Regions from separate parts of the Homo sapiens genome. Here regions 1, 3 and 4 are each linked to region 2. Evidence: promoter capture Hi-C in human tissues and cell types (Jung and others, 2019). All regions are on one chromosome and are shown on one strand. Each heading gives the region's core, a stretch centred on a gene start or on the middle of the fragment in contact. The rest is flanking DNA. Distances are from core to core; before and after follow the strand shown.

Region 1 (2,700 bases), core at 50-2,549, 1.3 Mb before region 2:
TATAGGTTACATGGACCCACATTTCATTGCTGAAAGAGATCTTAGAGACTACCCTTGCACTCCTTGATTTTAGACCAAAGTCTGGGAAGGTATGTGGCTATGCCAATATCACAGAGCAAATTAATGTAAGAATTCAAGATAGGAATCCATTTGTCCTAAATCTTTGCCTAGTACTCTCCACAAGACCAGGATTGGAGCCCAGCCTTCACCAAGATCCACATACAGGGTATGTCTAATAACACAGGAGGGGCCCTAAACATGCTTACTACTACTACTACTACTAATAAACTGAATAAGTAATGTTGAATAAACTTTCAATGAATTGAATGTCAGAAAGAAAATAACTGGTATTATGCTATGTACTTTCATATACACTGTCTCATTTGATGGGAACAAAAACTTCTATCTGTTGTGTTATTATTCCCCAATTTCCAATTACTCTTTTAGAGTTGCAGATGTCAAAGGACAGTTTGGGTACCCTGCCTCAGAGTCCCTGGTTAACAAGAGAAGGGCTCTGAGAAGCAGTCTAGCTTGATAGCTCAGGGCTCCCAGGCCCAGGTTTAGATCACACCTCTGTCCTTGCAGACTCTGTGATGGGGGAGGTTATTCAGTCTCTGTCAAGGCTAATAAATAATGCAACAACGGTGATTCTAATAGTTTAAAACGGATCAGGATACCCTGATGTAGTGGGAAAAAACTTGCCCTTGGTATTCAAATCAGATTGATGATGCAACTCTGTCCTGACTTCACTTTCCTCATCTCTGAAATGGGAATAATGTTTATCTCATAGGGTTGTGAGGATTTTCCAGGAAAATCGCACACAACCCCGCACGTTTCTACTTGTTAAAGGAACTCAGCCGAAATTCTTGCCAGCTTTCGTCCCGACCCCATCCCCAGGGCTCCTCCTGGTTCCTGGTGGGCCCTCTTTCCTAGTCTATTTTTTTTAACTTTCTCTTCGTTTTGTCTTTCCTTTCTCTCTCCCTTTCATCTCCTTCTCCCCCCGTTACTTTTCTTTTGGGTTACCTTTTTAATGAGATGTAGAAAATGTATCAGCAGGTTTATGAAAAGTGAACTGGCAGATGGAAGATGTCACCATGACACTGAGGAAAACTGTTTTCTAACCCCCACCAAAGTAATTTAATTTACACATTTACTTCCTCAAAAAAAGAAAAAAAAAAGCTTTTATGCTTTCAGCACGCAGGCAATGGAGACAGCCTCGGGTCGTGTTGCCCACACGCAGGTGCTGCTAGCTGCCTCCCAGTCGCTCTCCTCGCGCATCTTCCCAGGGGACATCCGCCCTCCCGGGACTGTGCTCCGGACAGCGGGGGAGGGCAGAGGGAGGGGCAGGGAGGTGACAAGCAGCGCCCCGCAGTGTGCACCGTGCGCTTCACTCCGCGCTCCTCTCCGTGCACCCAGACCCAGAGCAGCCCCGCCCGGCAGCCAGCACAACTGCCCCGCGCCACAGGCCGCCGGCCTCTGCTTGCCAGGGCTGCGGGGGAAGAACATGCCCCCGTGCACTAGCTCCGCGTTCCCGAAGGAAGGTTTTCGCAGCCATGGGCAGTGGGCCTTTAGTCTCCCGCTCCGTGCAGTGGGAAGGGATCAACTGAGCGGCGCGGAGCCATCAGTGGTCTCTGCGTGGAGGCTGCAGCCCCGCCGACGCCCTCGCCTTCGCCCTCGCCCCCGCCCCCGCCCCCGCCCTCTATACTGTGGACAAAGGCAATCCGGATTTGTTTTTGTTTTCGTGGTTTTCTTTGTTGATGATGGGAGCTGGAAACTGGGGAGGAGAGAATTTTGCAGTTGTGAAAGGGCATCTCTCTCTTCCCTTACTTATTATTTTCTTCAAAGATAACAGAATTTCCCCATGGCAGGAACCGCAGACTGGCAAGCAGGAGACCTGAGTTTGAGTTGAGCCTTTGCTATGTGACCTCAAACAAACCATTGAACTGTATTTTTTATTTTTTATTTTTTAGTTTAGCTGGGCTTAGCTTTGTTGTTTTCTTTCCCACATTGTTTATAAAACGAGGATACTAATAACACCACAGAGGGGTTGTAAGGATTACATACACGTGAACAGACTATGTGAACGCATAGTAGGCGCTAGATAAAGATTTGTTTTGAAATTATCCATAACAACACCTCCAATATAAGGAATAAGAGACCTAGGAAGCCCAGAGAGGGCAAGTTAGCATGCCAGTTGGAGGATGAAAACCAAGGCTGGAACTAAGGTTTCCCATTTCCAGCTTCGTGTTCTTCCCATTTCCCACTCTTCCGCTGATTCTAACCTAGTGCACTTACAACTCTGGAGAAGGGAGACCCAGTTGGAATCCCTGGCTTCACCATTCTGAAGTTGAGGCGTCTTGGGCACGTCTCTTATAAAACTTTTTTGTTTTATAGTTTTGTAATTTGTTCCTCAAACGTTTCAATGCCTATGATGTACCTGCCAGTTACCATAGACGGTGGAGGGGACCCAAAAATGAATAGAACATGATCCGTGACCTCATGGAATTCACGTTCTTGCTAGAGGGCCTCATGCATAATATAAGCAAAAATAAATAACCAATCTGTTGGTGATTATATTAATAGAGCATGGTGGAAGGAAGAGTTCTGTTTAATGTCGGGGGTTGGGGGGGATCCCAATGTCTCAACAGTGAGCAAGGACTGGAGAGGTTAACTTGGAACGTGCTATCCAGGTTTCACCTC
Region 2 (2,700 bases), core at 118-2,617:
ATGACTATTCCAGTTAATTTATACTTTCTAAGGAAATATATTTAATGACAAGTGTGAGCAAGTAGCTCCTACCTCAAATTAACCACTTAGAGTGGTGTATTTTTCACCTCTCAACTCTCTACTCAGACCCTCCTTCCATTGCCCTTAGGGAATTGAAATTCAGAGACATGACGTTTTCCATTATTGGTTCCTTGCCCCTTTGCAACTGTACAACATTCCTCAAAAAGTACATAGAATTCTCCATCCTATAGGATCAGACAACAGTATCTATTTCAGGAGCAATAATATGCATAATGTAAGACAGAATAGTTTTTCTTGGAATTGTCTGTGTTAATTGTGATTTAAAGGTTACTGGTTCCGTCTATGACAATGGTGTTGCTGAGTTCACCTAAGTATTTTTGTTCAATCTGCATACTTTAAAAACTCAATGTGGCTAAAACTCAAACAGTCTAAATTAGACTGTTGTAAGGATACCATGTGCCCTAAACAGTGGTTTTTTTAGAGCATTATACTTAAAGACAACATTTTCCTTAAAAAAAGAAAAAAAACATGTCTATGAAGAAACAAAGATACTGCAAAATTAGTATAGAGAAGAAAAGTCCAAAATTCCGTATTCCTCTGTTTAACAACCTGTACGGTAAATTGTAGGTGACAATCACGTTGTTACATGAATAGGAATGCAAAGCATAAAGAACAAGAGCTACATCTTGCTTTTCCTAAAGAAATTAAAGACAAGTTTAACCCGCACCTGCCAAACTGTCTTAAAAGGGACAGAAATAGGTGGGAACGGAAAGGCTCACCTCTCCTGTACCCCAGAGTGCGTCTCCCTGAAATCATCTTCAATATAGGCAATATATCTGTCACCTTCTCTTTTATCTTTTTCGTCCATTCTAGTCAATGGCAGACCCTTTGCTGCACTCCCCTGCCCACTATCTCAAAGACACATTACAGAATAAGGGGACCCAAGTGTCACTTACCAGTTGCATGCCACAGATAAAGATAAGCGTGCACCTGCCACTGCAATAACCCATGGTTTCCGAGACCCCTGCCACAGCCAGACTGTCCCACGTCGGCCACCGTCGAGCCCCCACTTTATCCAATCAGATCGCGGGGAAGGACACGCAAACCTGCCGAGGGCTCGGGGGCTCCGGGCTGCTGCTGCTGCCAGCGTCCTGGGAAGTGACAGGCATTAGGACCTGCTGGCGCGGCGGCGGCGGCGGCGGCAGCTCCAGCCGCGCCCGCCACACATACCTTCACTCGCTCGGTGCACACGCCGCGCCGCGGGCAGTGCCGCCTGCGGAGGCGCGCTCGGGGCCCGCAGGGGCAGCAGCGGCAGCCTGGCAGCGCCGCCGCGCCCTCGGGCATCTGGCCCGCGAAGTTTCGCCCCTGCCGCTCTCCGCGCCGCTCGCCTCACGCCCCCCAGCGCGGCCGCCGCCCGACGCGCGCTCGCCCTGCGCTCGCCGCGCGCCGGCTCCGGGGGCGGCAGAAGCGCGCGAGGGCCGCTGCCCGCCTCCCTGCGCAGCCCGCGGCTCCTAGGCACCCTGCGTTGCTGGGCCCGGCGGGCGGGGGTGGGGCGGGGAGCGGGGCGCGGGCCGAGCGGGGGCGTCCCGGCTCCGCGGTCCCCGGCGGCTGCTGCAGCGGCTGCTGCGCGCAATGATGCGGGTCCGCGCCGCGTCCCAGCAGCGGCGCTGCCCCTCCCTTCGCCCAGATGTGTGAATCCTCCTCCTACAACAAATCCTTCATCCTGCTCCCTGCCGCCCCCTCCCAGGGGGCCAACTTTGAGGACCGCAGGGGCTGCCGCCCAGGCGGCCGCAGGCGGCGGTGTCTAGGCGGAAAGGAGCGGCGCGAAAGCGGCGGCGGCGGGGACCGGGGCCTCGGGGCGAGGAGTCTGGGCGGCATGACCGCGGTTTGCTGAGCTGAAGTCGGTCGTGCTCCCAGAGCCACTCCGCGGGAGCGAACCGAGTGTGTGTGTGCGCGCGCGCTCGGGGGAGAAGGGACCAAGAGGAGGGTTAGGGAAGGAAGCTGGGGTCATGGAACAGGGGTGCAACCGAGGCATCCAGAGCGGCCGGAAAGCCCGAGTGGCGGAGAGGCCAGAGGTGGCGAGAAGGGGCGCGGCGGCACCGGACGCACCGCCCAGCACCTGGCTCCCCTGGGCTCCCGAGGATCTGAAGGGTCGGAGCGCGGAGAGCTACGGAGCCGACCCTGCTTGGGGAAGGGGACCGAGTTGCTGCTGGAGTTGGGAAAAATTAGCAACCGGAGGGAATAGGGATGCAATGAGTTGCTGTTGCTGCTTCAAACTGTTGTTTGTTTTCACTTAAAATACTAAAGAGTCGGAGACTAGTTTAATACTCAGTTACTTCAGCTTCACAGCAGTCCCAGCTGGGTGTGGATTCCTAGTGGAGATGCACCAGCCTCCGCTGAGCACCGGCCTGAAAGCTGTGAAGCGGCTGCTACCTGCAGAGACAGGCTTCGGAGCCCGCTGCTGCCACCTGCGGGCGGAAAGCTGAAGGGCGCAACATGCTGGCCCAAGTGGCTGCCCCTGGGGCGTGGATATTTAGGACCAAGTTTCCTTTTTAGCCCTGGCAGCTAAGGAAAGCAATCCTAACTTTTCCAGGAAGTGAAGATTATTTGTTGAGATCCACTGAGGAACTGACTCATTGGGGTGAAGTGTCGCGATTGATAAGAGGATGGTTTAGGGAG
Region 3 (2,700 bases), core at 127-2,626, 1.0 Mb before region 2:
CAGTTTCTTCCTAGTCTCGATGGTCTTTACATTTTGGCATGATTTTGCAGTGGCTGGTACCGGTTGTGCCTTTCCATGTTTAGTGTTTCCTTCAGGAGCTCTTTTAGGCAGGCCTGGTGGTGACAAAATCTCTCAGCATTTGCTTGTCTGTAAAGTATTTTATTTCTCCTTCACTTATGAAGCTTAGTTTGGCTGGATATGAAATTCTGGGTTGAAAAATCTTTTCTTTAAGTATGTTGAATATTGGCCCTCACTCTCTTCTGGCTTGTAGAGTTTCTGCCAAGAGATCCGCTGTTAGTCTGATGGGCTTCCCTTTGTGTGTAACCCGATCTTTCTCTCTGGCTGCCCTTAACATTTTTTCCTTCATTTCAACTTTGGTGAATCTGACAATTATATGTCTTGGAGTTGCTCTTCTCGAGGAGTATCTTTGTGGTGTTCTCTGTATTTCCTGAATCTGAACGTTGGCCTGCCTTGCTAGATTGGAGAAGTTCTCCTGGATAATATCCTGCAGAATGTTTTCCAACTTGGTTCCGTTCTCCCCGTCACTTTCAGGTACACCAATCAGACGTAGATTTAGTCTTTTCACATAGTCCCATATTTCTTGGAGGCTTTGTTCGTTTCTTTTTATTCTTTTTTCTCTAAACTTCCCTTCTTGCTTCATTTCATTCATTTCATCTTCCATCGCTGATACCCTTTCTTCCAGTTGATTGCATCAGCTCCTGAGGCTTCTGCATTCTTCACGTAGTTCTCATGCCTTGGCTTTCAGCTCCATCAGCTCCTTTAAGCACTTCTCTGTATTGGTTATTCTAGTTATACATTCGTCTAAATTTTTTTCAATGTTTTTAACTTCTTTGCCTTTGGTTTGAATTTCCTCCTGTAGCTCGTAGTTTGATCATCTGAAGCCTTCTTCTCTCAACTCGTCAAAGTCATTCTCCATCCAGCTTTGTTCCATTGCTGGTGAGGAACTGCGATCCTTTGGAGGAGGAGAGATGCTCTGCTTTTTAGAGTTTCCAGTTTTTCTGCTCTGTTTTTTCCCCATCTTTGTGGTTTTATGTACTTTTGGTCTTTGATGATGGTGATGTACAGATGGGTTTTTGGTGTGGATGTCCTTTCTGTTTGTTAGTTTTCCTTCTAACAGACAGGACCCTCAGCTGCAGGTCTGTTGGAGTTTGCTAGAGGTCCACTCCAGACCCTGTTTGCCTGGGTGTCAGCAGCGGTGTCTGCAGAACAGTGGTTTTTTGTGAACCGCGAATGCCGCTGTCTGATCGTTCCTCTGGAAGTTTTGTCTCAGAGGAGTACCCGGCCGTGTGAGATGTCAGTCTGCCCCTACTGGGGGGTGCCTCCCAGTTAGGCTGCTCAGGGGTCAGGGGTCAGGGACCCACTTGAGGAGGCATTCTGCCCATTCTCAGATCTCCAGCTGCGTGCTGGGAGAACCACTGCTCTCTTCAAAGCTGTCAGACAGGGACATTTAAGTCTGCAGAGGTTACTGCTGTCTTTTTGTCTGTGCCCTGCCCCCAGAGGTGGAGCCTACAGAGGCAGGCAGGCCTCCTTGAGCTGTGGTGGGCTCCACCCAGTTCGAGCTTCCCGGCTGCTTTGTTTACCTAAGCAAGCCTGGGCAATGGCGGGCGCCCTTCCCCCAGCCTCGCTGCCGCCTTGCAGTTTGATCTCAGACTGCTGTGCTAGCAATCAGTGAGACTCCGTGGGCATAGGACCCTCGGAGCCAGGTGCAGCATATAATCTCCTGGTGCGCCATTTTTTAAGCCCGTTAAAAAAGTGCAGTATTCGGGTGGGAGTGATCCGATTTTCCAGGTGCCGTCTGTCACCCCTTTCTTTGACTAGGAAAGGGAACTCCCTGATCCCTTGCGCTTCCCGAGTGAGGCAATGCCTCGCCCTGCTTCGGCTCACGCACAGTGCGCTGCACCCACTGACCTGCGCCCACTGTCTGGCACTCCCTAGTGAGATGAACCTGGTACCTCAGATGGAAATGCAGAAATCACCTGTCTTCTGCGTCGCTCACGCTGGGAGCTGTAGACCGGAGCTGTTCCTGTTCGGCCATCTTGGCTCCTCCCCCAGATCTTTAATATTTTAAGCTTGGTAACACATTCACACGTGCTAAACAATGAAAGTGAAAAGCAATAGCTATAATAGTATCATAATAAATAAAGTATATCGTTAGCTGAAAAATCACTTTAAGCTTTTGGTTCTAAAGGCCTAATAAAAAATGAAATATAAGGTTCACTTGATAAACTATTTTGTATTGTTGTTCTTGTTCATATCTGCTAATTCTCAGTGAGGGCAGTGCCTTAGGTGAGATTTTAAGAAACAAATGATGGTTTTCTGCTGAGACCTGGATCTTGTTATCAGGTAGTCTTTTAATAATATAATGCCAGTACTTGATATATCATAATGCCACTACTTGATACATTGTTGTAGAATCTGTTTGGTAGCATCAAGATGGGGGGCTTTGGAGTCAGAAGACCTGTGCTCAGGTTGTGCCTTTACTTCTTACCATCATTGGACCTATAATCAGGTCACAATTGCTCTGAGCCTTAATTTCTTCCTCTGTAAAGTGAGGATAATCAAGCAATTTCAGCTTCGAAGGGTTATTGAGAGAATCAGGTGTCATATGTGTGTAATACGTAGAGGTATATATATTAAAAATACACTATGAGTAGGATTGGGATCTCCTCTCTTTTCAAA
Region 4 (2,700 bases), core at 146-2,645, 2.0 Mb before region 2:
AGATCAGCAGCAAAAACAGTTATCATCCCAGGACTCTGACATAGTTAACAAACAGAGCCTCTTGGATTAGGATGAAAAGCTATTCCTGAAGAAGAGGTATTCATGGAAAGATTTCACATTTTGGTCCTCAGGGTTCTGTAGGGCTTTGCAGACTTCTGACTCCCATGAGAGAAAGACGGGGGTAATGAATAGAATAGACAGAGTCCAGAAATCCAGAGGGATTTCGAAACTTAGGTTATTCTACTAAATCCTCTCTAGATACTATTGTCATACCAAGACAGACTATAAAGAATGAACTAACAGAATTGGAGCCCCAAGAGCTTCTAAGAATTTTCATTACTGGTCATGAAGTAATTGAAATTTGTGGTTTGCCTGCTATGTTGTCATATATGGCTGAGCTCTCTGTTATATCTTAAAGGAATATAAATTATGCAATTCCTATCCTATTGTGGACTTCAGAGGGAAATGATGATAAGTAGCTCCCTTTTGTGAATGGATCTTGGGCCAACAGTAACATACATGTCCATACCACTCCCTCTACACCAGCACTATTCTATCGGCCTTAAGTGAATTAACTTGTAACAGCCTTATGAGTTATATAGTATGGACACTACAACTGTCCTCTTTTTACAGATGATAAAACTGGACCAGCTCGCAGGGGGTAATTTGCCCAAAGTCACAGAGCTAATCAGTGGCAGAACCAGGATTTGAAATCAGGCAATCCAGCTACAGATACGATGCCCTTCACCACTGCACTATGAGGCAGTTGGTATTCTTTTACAATGTTAACCCAAACAGCCAGCTCCCTTCTTTTTATTTTTTCTATTTTTTTTGAGATGGAGTTTCACTCTTATTGCCCAGGCTGGAGTGCAATGGCGCGATCTCGGCTCACCACAACCTCTGCCTCCCGGGTTCAAGCAATTCTCCTGCCTCAGCCTCCTGAGTAGCTGGGATTACAGGCATGCACCACCATGCCCAGCTAATTTTGTATTTTTAGTAGAAACGGGATTTCTCCATGTTGGTCAGGCTGGTCTGAAACTCTGGACCTCAGGTGATCCGCCCACCTCGGCCTCCCAAAGTGCTGGGATTACAGGCATGAGCCACCACACCCAGCCGCCAGCTCCCTTCTTGAAGGCCATTCTCCAGTGCAATGACCTCTTCAATGGCCTGACAGTCAGGTGACGTGTATGGAGCCTACTTGGAAATATCTGTTCACAAACTATTCTGGGACAAATTTTAGGACTGTCTAGGTGGCCAAGAATAGCAACCAAGATGGAACTTAGTTTTTATAATAAAGCCTAAGAACAATATTACTCTTTAGAAGTACAGCTCATGCCAAATATTTGAAACCCTAATGAGAAAACTTAGCCTTGTGGCTAACAATGCTAAGGGAAGTAAAGCAATCAAACAAATTTTCTTGTAGCATGACTAATTCAATCAGTATCCTAACATCCTGAGGTAGCAGTTGTAGAGACAGAATCATGGAGCTGCAGGGGCCCTTGGCGCTCATGCTGCTAGTGTAGCCCTCAAAGTGCAGCCCAGACTTTTTTCTTAGGTCAGAGGCACAGCAGTGGTCAAGCTAGGCTGGATCATTGGCTTCTGTGATTTAATCCAGTTATCTTTTCTATTATGTAAGAATGTTTGCATTTCATGCCATCATTCAGGATGGTTCCTTGAGAAGGTACAATCTGGGAAAAGTCAACCCATTGGGGCTTCTCTGTACAATGGTTACCCTCCCTCCCTACTAGACGCAGGAAAAAGATGGTTAAGATCAGGGCTGATGTTCTAGAGATCCTCAATGGTATGGCCATACAGGAGTTAAATATTGGTAACAGTTGCTTCCCTCCAATGTCCTGCCTCTGCCCTGATCTAGGACCCGTATACAGTGTAGTAAAAGGTTAATGCTGAGCACCGGGAGGCCTTCAGGATTTAGTTGGAGCCCTTAAATCCTTCTGATACCTTCTCCTTATTCAGTTGTTAAATATACTGAATAACACCCTTGGCTAAGGTGAATATCAAAGGATTCTTTGAAGGATGAAAAAGATTCAGAGGAACAAAATCAAGTCTGAGTTGTGATGTGTAAGTGGGATAATGAAATCTGAGTGAACTAGGATCTCAAGGCTGTTTTTAGCATGAGATGAGATCCTCTCTCACCACCTCGACAATTACTCCCTAAGTCACTATCCAGTACAGAGGACACCTCTCTAGGGCCCTGGACCTGGAGTGCCTGCTCCTGTTTGCTTTCCCCAAGAATGACTCTGCTCCATTAATGGCTTCTGGTGTAGAGACTTCCTACCTGCACTTCAACTGTTCTGTTTGGTCTAAATTCAAGACCAAGCAAAAATCTGAAAACAATAATGAAAATAACTCTAGAGTCAATTCCTTTGGAATAGCTGAATTATTTTCAGTCTTAGCCTTCATTTAATGAAGACAGAGGAGGAGAAGGAGTAGGAAGAAAGAAGCAGAAGGAGGAGAAAAGGATTACCTCTAACCTCCTGTTTATGTTTGGATGTTTGTGTGTTTGTTTTTTGTTCTTTCTGTACAGATTCCAGCATGCGCTTCTTAAGTCCTAAACAAATCTCTGACCAGGCTGCTGTGAATGAAGCTTTACTCCCACAGTATTATGAAAGCAAACACAAGCCCAGGGTCAAGTGCTTCTTTTGTTCCAAAAGTTCTTTCCCACGAGTTCAATCCTGCCAT

Evidence for each region. The method cuts DNA at HindIII sites, captures the fragments that hold promoters and counts their contacts. A contact is called where the count stands out against the background at its distance.
Region 1: a contact is called between a fragment that was not itself captured here and the fragment with the promoter of NKAIN2 in region 2, in 1 of the 25 tissues and cell types used here (hippocampus).
Region 3: a contact is called between a fragment that was not itself captured here and the fragment with the promoter of NKAIN2 in region 2, in 2 of the 25 tissues and cell types used here (dorsolateral prefrontal cortex and mesenchymal stem cells).
Region 4: a fragment that was not itself captured here is called in contact with the fragment with the promoter of NKAIN2 in region 2 in 1 of the 25 tissues and cell types used here (hippocampus).

The regions. Positions count from the first base shown.
Region 1 is chr6:125,098,513-125,101,212 of GRCh38, reverse strand. No RefSeq gene overlaps it. Among named protein-coding and RNA genes, the nearest start is that of TPD52L1, 54 kb to the left of the region's middle. The HindIII fragment of the contact is 8,655 bases long and covers 1-2,700 here.
Region 2 is chr6:123,802,532-123,805,231 of GRCh38, reverse strand. NKAIN2 (sodium/potassium transporting ATPase interacting 2) reads right to left here and starts at 1,367. Exons shown (of 7, transcript NM_001040214.3): 1 at 978-1,367. The coding sequence starts at 1,031. RefSeq lists an enhancer at 2,562-2,611. The HindIII fragment of the contact is 12,261 bases long and covers 1-2,700 here.
Region 3 is chr6:124,803,874-124,806,573 of GRCh38, reverse strand. All of the region lies in intron 5 of NKAIN2 (sodium/potassium transporting ATPase interacting 2), which reads right to left. Among named protein-coding and RNA genes, the nearest start is that of RNF217, 160 kb to the left of the region's middle. The HindIII fragment of the contact is 4,271 bases long and covers 1-2,700 here.
Region 4 is chr6:125,754,701-125,757,400 of GRCh38, reverse strand. The region is part of intron 4 of HEY2 (hes related family bHLH transcription factor with YRPW motif 2); the gene reads right to left. Among named protein-coding and RNA genes, the nearest start is that of HEY2, 6.4 kb to the right of the region's middle. The HindIII fragment of the contact is 7,524 bases long and covers 1-2,700 here.